Regions from separate parts of the Homo sapiens genome. Here region 2 is linked to region 1. Evidence: promoter capture Hi-C in human tissues and cell types (Jung and others, 2019). All regions are on one chromosome and are shown on one strand. The core of a region is centred on a gene start or on the middle of the fragment in contact, and the rest is flanking DNA. Distances in the headings are between cores, read along the strand shown.

Evidence for each region. The method cuts DNA at HindIII sites, captures the fragments that hold promoters and counts their contacts. A contact is called where the count stands out against the background at its distance.
Region 2: a fragment that was not itself captured here is called in contact with the fragment with the promoter of DUSP18 in region 1 in 1 of the 25 tissues and cell types used here (dorsolateral prefrontal cortex).

The regions. Positions count from the first base shown.
Region 1 is chr22:30,665,859-30,671,076 of GRCh38, reverse strand. It overlaps DUSP18 (dual specificity phosphatase 18), which reads left to right and starts at 3,202. Exons shown (of 2, transcript NM_152511.5): 1 at 3,202-3,615. It also overlaps a transcript of SLC35E4 not described here. RefSeq lists an enhancer at 2,715-3,104. The HindIII fragment of the contact is 10,031 bases long and covers 1-5,218 here.
Region 2 is chr22:30,884,254-30,889,471 of GRCh38, reverse strand. It overlaps OSBP2 (oxysterol binding protein 2), which reads right to left. Exons shown (of 14, transcript NM_030758.4): 4 at 1,854-2,046; 5 at 1,132-1,249; 6 at 238-295. LOC107985544 (a long non-coding RNA gene) reads left to right here. Exons shown (of 3, transcript NR_146603.1): 3 at 1-3,416. Among named protein-coding and RNA genes, the nearest start is that of MORC2-AS1, 35 kb to the left of the region's middle. RefSeq lists an enhancer at 2,763-3,460. The HindIII fragment of the contact is 5,521 bases long and covers 1-4,940 here.

The DNA of each region.
Region 1 (5,218 bases), core at 1,953-4,452:
AAGAGAAGGGTTATCAGGAACTCAGAACCATCTTCCAAAGCAGTCTTTTGTTTTTTTGAGATGGAGTTTCATTCTGTCTCCCAGGCTGGAATGCAGTGGCACAATCTCGGCTCACTGCAACCTCCACCTCCCGGGTTCAAGCGATTCTCCTGCCTCAGCCTCCCGAGCAGCTAGGATTACAGGCATGCGCCACCACACCTGGCTAATTTTTGTATTTTTAGTAGAGACGGGGTTTCACCATGTTGGCCAGGCTAGTCTCGAACTCCTGACCTCAAGAGATATGCCTGCCTTGGGCTCCCAAAGTGGTAGGATTACATGCGTGAGAGCCACCATGCCCACCCAGCCAAAAGCAGTCATCTTGATGATCCTTCTTAAGGATGAAATGGGAGAGAGGGGTCTTAGAGGGGAGGAGTAAAAGTTGTAGAGTAGGGTTCGAAGGATGAATTTGAGAGGTGTTTAGCTTGGGGAGCACTTGCTCTAGACCCTGTGCCTAAAGGGGATCTGGGAGGCGGGGGCTTGGGGGAGTATAGATCAGAGCAGGGAGAAATAAAAGTAAGAGTTTGGACAGATGTTAGGCTGGTTAATAGGGGAATTCCAGAAGAAGGTTTGGGGAAAATTTAGAATAGGGAGGTGTGGGGTGGACAGGGGTTTTAGGAGACTCTGAAAGGTGAGGTGAAACATGGGGTGGGGTGGGGTAGAATGGAGCTAGGTACTCCAGGTGAAAATATAACAATCTGGTCAAAATGAGGAAATGCTGAAGAGTGGATATACTTCTAAGCACTGCATTTTCACTTTTTGATAATTTGGTTACACCATGAAGTAGTCTTACAAATAAATACCTTTAAATGGTTTTGCCCATTTAAAAATAATTCTTCAGGATCAGGCACAGTGGCTGAGGCCTATAATCCCAGCACTTTGGGAGGCCAAGGTGGGCAGATCACTTGAGGTCAGGAGTTCGAGACCAGCCTGGCCAACATGGTGAAACCCCATCTCTACTAAAAATACAAAAATTAGCCGGGTGTAGTGGTGAGCACCTGTAATCCCAGCTAATCAGGAGGCTAAGGCAGGAGAATCACTGGAACCCAGGAGGCAGAGGTTGCAGTGAGCCAAGACTGTGCCACTGCACTCGGGCCTGGGCCACAGAGCTAGACTCTGTCTCAAAAAAAAAATTGTTCATATTTTCTTTCTAAAATGCGGAAACAAAATCTACAGTATGGAAGCAATTGAATAAATTTTGGTATGTCATAAAATAAAATACATGTAATTGTGTATGAAACATAGACGGGTGGTATATTAGATGGGAGAAAAAAGCAGGTTACTAAAAAGTGAACTTTTGTGATGTATCTTTTTTAAGTATAAGCATGTTGTAACATATATATATATATATATATATATATATATGAATGGATTCTGATCAAAATACACCAAAATGTTAACAGTGATTGTCCCTAGCCACTTATGCTGCTGGCCTGTCTTGTCTTCTTTTTATTTCTTCGAGACGGGGTCTCACTCTGTCCCCCAGGTTGGAGAGTAGTGGCACAATCTCAGCTCACTGCAACCTCCACATCCCAGGCTCAAGTGATCCTCCCACCTCAGCCTCCTGAGTAACTGGGACCACAGGTGAGCCACCAAGCCCGGCTAATTTTTTGTATTTTTGGTAGAGATGGGGTTTCACCCTGTTGCCCAGGCTGGTCTCGAACTCCTGAGCTCAGGTGATCCAACTGCCTCAGCGTTTCAAAGTGAAGTGGTGGGAATACAAGCGTGAGCCACCATGCCTGTCCTCATTTTTCTATAAGTGTACACTACTTTTATAATTGGGTCAAAAAAGACAACTGTAGAAGGATAAAAAATATTGAAGGACTAGTTTTTCTAATGCATTTTCAGCCTATTTGGAACTGGAGTGTTGTGAATGTTTTCATATTTACAAACTAGTATGAACAATCCAACTTCTCAATCTCTCATTTACATTTTTCTGACCTCTATGCATAGCCTAGGTGTGAGGTGATGGAAAAAGCTGGTTTAGAGATCAAGATGCTCAAACACAAAAGTCCCCCAAATCCTGAGAGTTTTTTGTTTTTTTAAAAAAATCCTTAAAACATTTAAAGACGCATAAAACTCTTCACCCACTCAGTGGTGCAAAAAATTTACCAATACTAGAAGGGGAGGAGGCTGGCAACGACTGGAAATATTCCCTTTCAAGTAATAAATAATGGTTATTTTGAACCAAATTGCTTTCCACCTCAAGTCCTCCATGGATGGGAGCCTGGAGGATGCAGTGATGGGGGTTATGGAATGGAAAGGAGCGTGGGTAATTGGGTTTGTGAGGATTGGGGCCAGGCAGAGGGAACTGGGGGCTTTTCCAGGACCACTGGGGAACACAGAGGCTGAGAAGGGGAGTGTGGGATGGGTTCGAGCTGGGGAGGACCTCGGCCTCGCCAGGCTCTAAGGAGAGTCACAGCTCACCACCTAGGGCGCTGGGACCACACGATGTCATGCCTGGGAGACTGAAGGGCTAGGACAGATTCTGAGAAAATGTGGACTGGAGATGGGGATTCCAGGTTCTCCCGGGAGTCCAGGCGAGGGAGTTCCGGCTTCAGGGAGTCCCAAGAGCTAGACTGGGAAGGGGCTGGTGCCCAGGACTATGAGAAATCCAGACTCCCCTGGGGTGTGAAAAAGGGCCGAGGTCCGGCTGAGGGAGAGCGAGTCTGAAAGAGTTCGGGCTCCCTTGCGGGTCCGAGAGTCTAACGAAGGCTCTGGGCACCCAGGCCGCACCTGAAGAGCACCAACGACTGCTCGGTCCGCGGCGCGGGAAGGAGATGTGCGGCTGAACCCCTACGCCGATTACTTAGCGGCGGCCCTATCGAGAGGGTGGTTCGAGCCCGAGGTGGCGCCGGTCCCGTAAATCGTGGAGGATCTCAGGTCCCCTGTGACCAAGGGCGTAGTCAGCTGTGTCATGGCGGCTTCCCTGTTCGAGAAACAGTTGGAAACTGGAGGCCGGTTGGGAGTCATGGTCGTTGGGCGCACGGAGGCCGGTTGGAAGCCATGGTCGTTGGGCGCCAGGAGGCCGGTTGAGAGCCGTGCTCGTTGGACGCGCGCAGACCTGGAGTTAGTCCCTGGGCGGAACCTGGAGCCCCGCGCGGCGCGTTGCCTGGGAGACGCATAAGGGGGCGGGGCCGGGGAGGGAGTGTCGCACATGCGCACAGAGCCCGGGCGGCTACGGAAGCGGTGAGACTGTCTCTCGGCTGCAGCCCTGGTGCGACCCGGCCCGTTGCCGTAGAGATGGGCAGGGCTGGATGGAGTGGGGTGCGGTGAGCTGAGCTGACCCTGCTTCGCCACGGGGACTGCAGTGACCCCGGCTTGCCGGCAGGGCGGGTAACAGGTTGAGCCAGGGTGGGGCTGCTCAGGGGCGTGGAGCCGAGGCCAGGATTTCTCTGAAGACCCGGCACAGGCTATTCCTTTCTGCGACGAGCCCATTGCTATGGAAACCAAAGCGTTAGGCCAGCGGGGATTGAGGCTGCGGGATCATGACGGGTCTCTCTCCCGAAGAACCTTGCCTAAGGCTTCCCCAAGCGGCTACTTCCTGAGCGAACCCGCCCACCCGCCTGAAGGAGAGAGGTAAAACCCTGGGGGTCCTGACACTAAGCAGGCGAAGAAGCCTATTCCAATGCCAGCTCCCCTAGGAAACCTACCCGGCCCACCCCTAGAAGTGATGCTTCGCTCTCGTTAACTCTTGGACTTTGTTCCATGTTTATAACTTAGTATTTCACGAACGCCCCGCGGTGTTTGTTCATTTTTCCCACACATAATGGACCATAAAGGTCGGCTTCTTTGCTTTATGACTCGTTCTGAACAAGTCCTTTTCCGCGCTGTGTCTCACTTTCCTCTTTTGTAAAATGGAAATATTAACTCTAGACGCCGGTCTGATTAGGTTGCTTTGAAGATCGAACCAGATGAGGGAAGCCAAATACTTCATAGGCTGTAAAGTGGTGAAGCTGAACTGCTACCGAGTTGCTATTTTTTTCTCCTCCTCCCTCTCAAGCTAAACGTTCTTTAGATCTTTTGTGATTTCTTCAGGTGGTCTTTGCGACTCCCTAGGCTCCGACCTGGAAGAAATCTTTTTTACACTTCCCTTTCACAGAGCCCTGCATTTTAACTTCCCTATCAGAAGCGAGAAAAATAGTTATCATTTTGAGAGGGCTTACTCTATGCCAAGCCCTGAGAAAACTCTTTACGTGGATTATCTCGTTTAATTTCACAACATCCTTTTAAGGTAGGTACTGTTATCCTATTTTCAAGCTCTGTCTGCCTGTAATTGCCTGTTTACTATCTGTTTCTCCCACTAGTCTTTGAGCTCCCTGAGAAAAGGGGCCATGCCTGTCTTGTACATTTCAGTATCTCCAACACCTAATACAGTGCCTGATAGAGATTGCTTTTTTTTTTTTTTTTTTTTTTTTTGAGATGGAGTCTCACGCTGTCTCCCAGGCTGGAGTGCAGTGGCACGATCTTGGCTCACTGCAGCCTCCGCCTCCCGGGTTCAAGCAATTCTCCCGTCTCAGCCTCCTGAGTAGCTGGGACTACAGGCCCATGCCACCACGCCTGGCTAATTTTTGTATTTTTAGTAGAGACGGGGGTTTCACCATGTTGGTCAGGCTGGTCTTGAACTCCTGACCTCAGGTGATCTGCCCGCCTCGGCCTTCCAAAGTGCTGGGATTATAGGCTTAAGCCACCGTGCCCAGCCCTGATAGATATTTCTTAACTAGCATGAAAATGACTCCTCGCATCACTACCCTCACCTGCAAGAGCATTGTCACTTCTGCAGACTTTTAGTGGCTATAATGAACAGCACATTCCTCTATTCCCGTTACCCACTGGGCACTGGTTTGGGGGGACATCAGTTCACTTCTCTATGGATTTTCTGATGACGAGGATCCAGAACATTCCTTAGCATTTAGACTTCCATCTGGGTTCAGGAGGCTTTTTCTTTGCCCTTCATATCACCTCTGTAGCAAGCCAGCCCTCTCTGTCCTTCCGGGAATGAGCCTGATGCATTTGAGTCTGGGGCATTGGCAGGTAGGATTTGCCTATACAACCTTTGGTCTTTCTCTTTAGTAGCCTCAGAACCACCCCCATCCCCACCCAGCCCCTCCCTGGAATTCTGGAGACACGCTGCCAGAGAACTCATTCTTTCCAGAAAACCTCTCAGAAGGCAGAGTCATAG
Region 2 (5,218 bases), core at 931-3,430, 220 kb before region 1:
CCCCCTCACCGTCAGCAGAGGCCAGAGCGCCCCCTTGGCTTCCAAGTTTCTGCCCTCCACCCTGAGGACTGGCACCAAGCCGGCCACTGGTACGCTGCTGGTGGAAGGCCAGGATGGTGCTCCTGGACTGGGGCATGGGCCTGCCTGCTGGCCCCCAGTTCTTGGTGCTGGCCTGTCCCTCCCACCCCCTAGGCCAGAAGCTGCCTTCTGGCCCTTACAGTGCTCCCCCTCACTTACATTGTCTGCTGAGCTCCAGTCCACGGAACTTGTCCCGGTGCTACCTTCAGCTTTTCTGCTGGAAATACAAAGCGGGAGGCAAGTTACTAATGAATCCCGAGGTCTCCTTGGGACCTGGCCCATCCTCTCTCCAGACAACATCATTTTCATTGCTAGTAAATGTCCTGGTCACTGCCGTGTGTTCTGTGTGTAGACAGGCACCGCAATAACAACATTTCAAGGGTGGATAGTGTATATGACAGTGGTCCCATAAGACTATCATATCGTATTTTTAATATACCTTTTCTATGTTTAGATACACAAATCCTTAACCATTGTGTCACAATTGCCTACAATATTCAGTACAGTCACATGTTGTACAGGTTTGTAGCCCAGGAGCTATAGGCTGTGCCATATAGCCCAGGTGTGTGGCAGGCTCTATCAGCTAGGTTTGTGTAAGTATACTCTATGAGGCTCACACAACAATGAAATCCCATCTGGAGCAAGACCGATAGATTATTGATTTTTTGAGACAGGGTCTCTCTGTTGCCCAGGCTAGAGTGCAGTGGCATGACCATGGCTCACTGCAGCCTCCACCTCCCTGGGCTCAAGCGACCCTCCCACTTCAGCCTCCCAAGTAGCTGGGACTACAGGCCTGCACTACCATGCCTGGCTAGTTTTTGTATTTTTTGTAGAGACAGGGTTTCGCCATGTTGCCCAGGCTGGTCTCAAACTCTTGTATTCAAGCAATCTTCTTACCCTTGGCCTCCCAAAGTGCTGGGAGCCACTGGGCCTGGCCAAAGCAAGATTTAAAGGAAAGAAAACCCCAAGTAGACAACTAGATAGCTGGTGAAAAGACCAGATGCAGCCTAAGACCAGGGTGGGGGAGGCTCTGCCCAGCTGCAGCCACCTTACCTGTCTTCCTTGGCCTCGGTGATCACGGTGATGAAGGATGTGGAGTCTTCCATGGCATCAAAGTACTCGGTATCTTCATCTTCCTCACTGTCCTCTCCTTTGGGAGTCAAGAGGCTTCCTAGAGACACAGACAGAGCTTTAATTTGTAACCTCACAAAAGGCTCAATCTCGCCTCCCTAAGTCCAGAGCCAAGGGCTCCCCCAACCCCCATCTGGCCTCACTCCCCTCCTGCTTCAGTCACCTGGGCAGCCCTGATTCCCTGGGCTGCGGCCACCCTTGCTCCCTCTGCTAGAATCATGTGCTTTCAACGCATTCACCGCACAGGAGCCTCTTTCTGGAAGCCCCCCCGATCTCTCAACATGTGGGTCAGTCTTTCTGTGGCCCAGCTTCCCTTTCTGATGGACCCCTGTCCAGGGTCCCCATGACCCCCAACCCAAGGCTAGGTGGGTGGCCACCTGGCACCAGGACACCCCTGTCACACAGGGGACAGCTGGGCTCATTAAATTTAACTCTTGAGAATGTGAACCTAGGTGCAGACAAACTGTTGCCAGTGGGTGATGGACATGGGAGATACAAAACCACGAAGAGGCAGTCAAGAGTTGGCCAAGGCCAGCCCACATGTGGGCACAGCCAGGGATGTGCATGTGGGGGCGCAGAAGTTGTGTATGCAGAGCCAGCTGGCAGAAGGTCATGGGACAGCCCTGCCCTGGCTGCCCACTCACCCTCAATGAAGCTCTTGGAGGGGTTGGCCGGCCGGCCAGGGGCACTGTGGAAGGCCCGCTCGAGGCTGTTGTGCTGCTTCGCCAGCTGCTCAATGGTTTCCTCCAAGTGCACGCGCTGCTCCTGCTCATACTGCAGTGCCCGCTGCCATTTCCGACTGTGTATCTCTGCTAGTTCCAAGAAGTCCCTGCAGGCCTGGGGAGGGAGGAGTGGCGGTATGAGACCCTGGCCTCTGGCAGGGGCCCATCTGTCAGAGGCATGTGAACCAGAGCAACTCCACCTTAAACAGGAGCTGGGTAAGATGAGGCTGAAACCTACTGGGCTGCATTCCCAGACAGCTAAGGCATTCTAAGTCACAGGATGAGATACAAAATACAGGTCATAAAGACCTTGCTGATAAAACAGGTTGCAGTAAAGGAGCCGGCCAAAACCCATCAAAACCAAAATGGCGACGAGAGTGACCTCTGGTCGTCCTCACTGCTACACTCCCACCAGCGCCACAGTTCACAGATGCCATGGCAACATCAGGAAGTCATCCTCTATGGTCTAAAAAGGGGAGGCATGAATAATCCACCCCTTGTTTAGCATATCAGCAAGAAATAACCATAAAAATGGGCAACAAGCAGCCCCGGGGGCTGCTCTATCTATGGAGTAGCCATTCTTTTATTCCTTTACTTTCTTGATAAACTTGCTCTCACTTTGCACAGCAGACTCGCCTTGAATTCTTTCTTGTGTGAGATCCAAGAACCCTCTCGTGGGGTCTGGATCAGGACCCCTTTCCTATAACACATCTGCTCCCCCACCTCCATTCCCTGTGAGGACTAAGCTCTGATATTTTTTATCTTGCCCAAATTCCTATCTAAGGCGTCTGGGGAGTCATGCCCTAAAAACCATACATTCTCATCAGATGGGCTTTATTTAGCCCTATATATCGTGACTTACTTTCCAACCTGACTCTGGCATAACATTACGAGTCAAGGAAGAAAAAGTATTTCATCCCAAAACATGCTTCTTTGCCATATTTTGAAGTGGCCCTGCAAAGCTGTCCTTTGTGGGGGAAAACGTGCATCTGTAAAGAATCTCTATTCACAGAGCTAGATCGTTTTCTTCCAGGCCCTCCCAACCCTGAAGAGATGAAGTAAGAGTCTTAGCACCTTTTTAAAGGTCTGATTAGGAAACATTTGTCATCTATTGTCTCCAAGGGGAGCCACTATAAGACTTAAAAAGAACCTTGGTCTCCACAATCTTTCATCTTAACCTGAACATTTCCTTTCTATTGATCCCAGGTCTTTAGACAACTCAACCAAGTGCCAACCAGAAAATGTTTAAATTTACCTATAGCCTGGAAGGCCCCCTCCCCACCTTGCTTTTGAGCTGTCCCGCCTTTCTGAACCAAACCAATGTATTTCTTAAATGTATTTGATTGCTGCCTCATGCCTCCCTAAAATATATAAAACCAAGCTGCGCCCCAACCACCTTGGGCACATGTTCTCAGGACCTCCCAAGAGCTATGTCATGGCTGTGGTCACTCATATTTGGCTGAGAATAAATCTCTTCAAATATTTTGCAGAGTCTGTTTTTGTTGACACCTGCAGTGAAGAAGGCCCTGGGGGCCATCTAGCTGCCCCCTCTGCTGGGATGGTCACAAACATGCTTACTGCCCCCTTTGGCCTCCTTGGGGATGTGGGAACCCTGGCCTTCTCAGAGCCCGCCCAGCAACCAGCACCCACCTTGGTTGGCCTCCCACGGTCAGGATGCCAGTTGGGGAACAGCAAACCTGGGTGCCACGGGTCTGCACGCTGCCTCCCCAGCAGCAGCTGGTTTGGTTCAGCCTGGAGCTGAGGTGGCTGCTGTTGCTCATTATGGTAGGGCCCGAGCATTCTGCGGCCACGTCCTCCCTGCAGTGTTAGGCCTCAGGTTTGTCACTGGCCCTTGTCTACCCTGGGCCAGTCCCTGGCCGTGGCACAGAAGGAAGGAAAGCCACGTTCTGCTATCCTCCCCAGCTCAGAGAGGTAATTGGTCTTGTCTGGCAGAAGTGGGACTGGCACTTTCTACCAAGCTACATCAGAGTCTGAATCACATAACTGCTTTTAAGGTTTTCCCTTCAAGCTTGTGGCCTACTGAGACATCCAGAATCTTTTCAGCTTCCCAGGTCCACAGATGGTTCCACCACCAGTTTTGAAGCAGGGGTTGGTCATTCTGCCCTGTCATTACAGTGGAGAGGATGGCTCAGGCTTCAGCTGTCCCTGGAGGGCAGTGAGATCAAATCTAGGAACCTCTGGATTTGCCCTTTCTGGACACATTCTTGAAGCCAGTAGGAAGGGACGTTTCCTTGGCCCGCATCTGCATCAGTGGCCCCAGCTGCCACTCCCCAGCACTTCCTCCCCACCCAATTGCCCCAGCTGACCTGGAGCACCCACTGAGCTCCATGCACATCACAGGCTGTCCCACCCCAAAGGAGGAAGATGGGCACACCAGTCCTCACCTGTGACACAGGGACAAGGCAGCTGTTGAGGAAATATCAGGAGGTGATGTGGCAGGCAGGGCGAGGGAGCACTCAACAGACGTGCCTCATGGATCCCCTCCCGCATCTGCCCTGGCACCTGGTGCCCAGGCCACAACCACTAACTCCCACCACTCCTCAGACCTCTGCAGCATCGCTCTCCCAGGCAACGGCCTGCCCCTCAGTCAGAACCGCTCAGATGCCTGCCCATTGGGTCGGTCTCTCCAGCGACTGTGCCAGGAATGCCCCTGAATCAGCAGCTGCTCCCAGACATTTGCTGCCAAGTGACACCTACCGGGGGGTGGGACTGACAGCAGTGGGAGCGAGACGGGGGTGTCCTGAGGCGGCCTCAGGAGAACACCTCCAAGGGTGGGAGGCTCCCCAAGGCTGTGCACTGGGGCACCCTGCCTGGGGACTCGCCCACCCCACAGGGAGAGCCCGAGCTCTCGTGGCTGGCCTGGCTCGGTGGAAAGGGGCCCCCAGCCTGCCCCAGGGATGCCACTCCTTGAACAAGCCCTCCTCTGGGCACCTTCCCTCCCCCATCTCCCTCAAGCACCACACAGGGTGGGCAGGGCAAGGTGTGCCTCCTCATCCCAGAGATGTGAAATGGGGCCTGGAGATGCAACATGGCCTGCCCAAGGAAGCCAGCAGAGTGTGGTGGCCAGGGGTGCACTATCAGGAGTTGGAAAACCTGGGTTCCAGCAGAAGCCCCTTGGACCCTCTGAGCCCACATCCTCTCTGTGAGACAGACGGTGATGCCCGACAGATGCTGTGCCCACAAGCTGCCCTGTCTCCGCTCATCCGGCAAAATTCTCCAGGTGGGAGGAGTGCAGTCACCCCCATTGGACAGATGAAGGTCTCCTC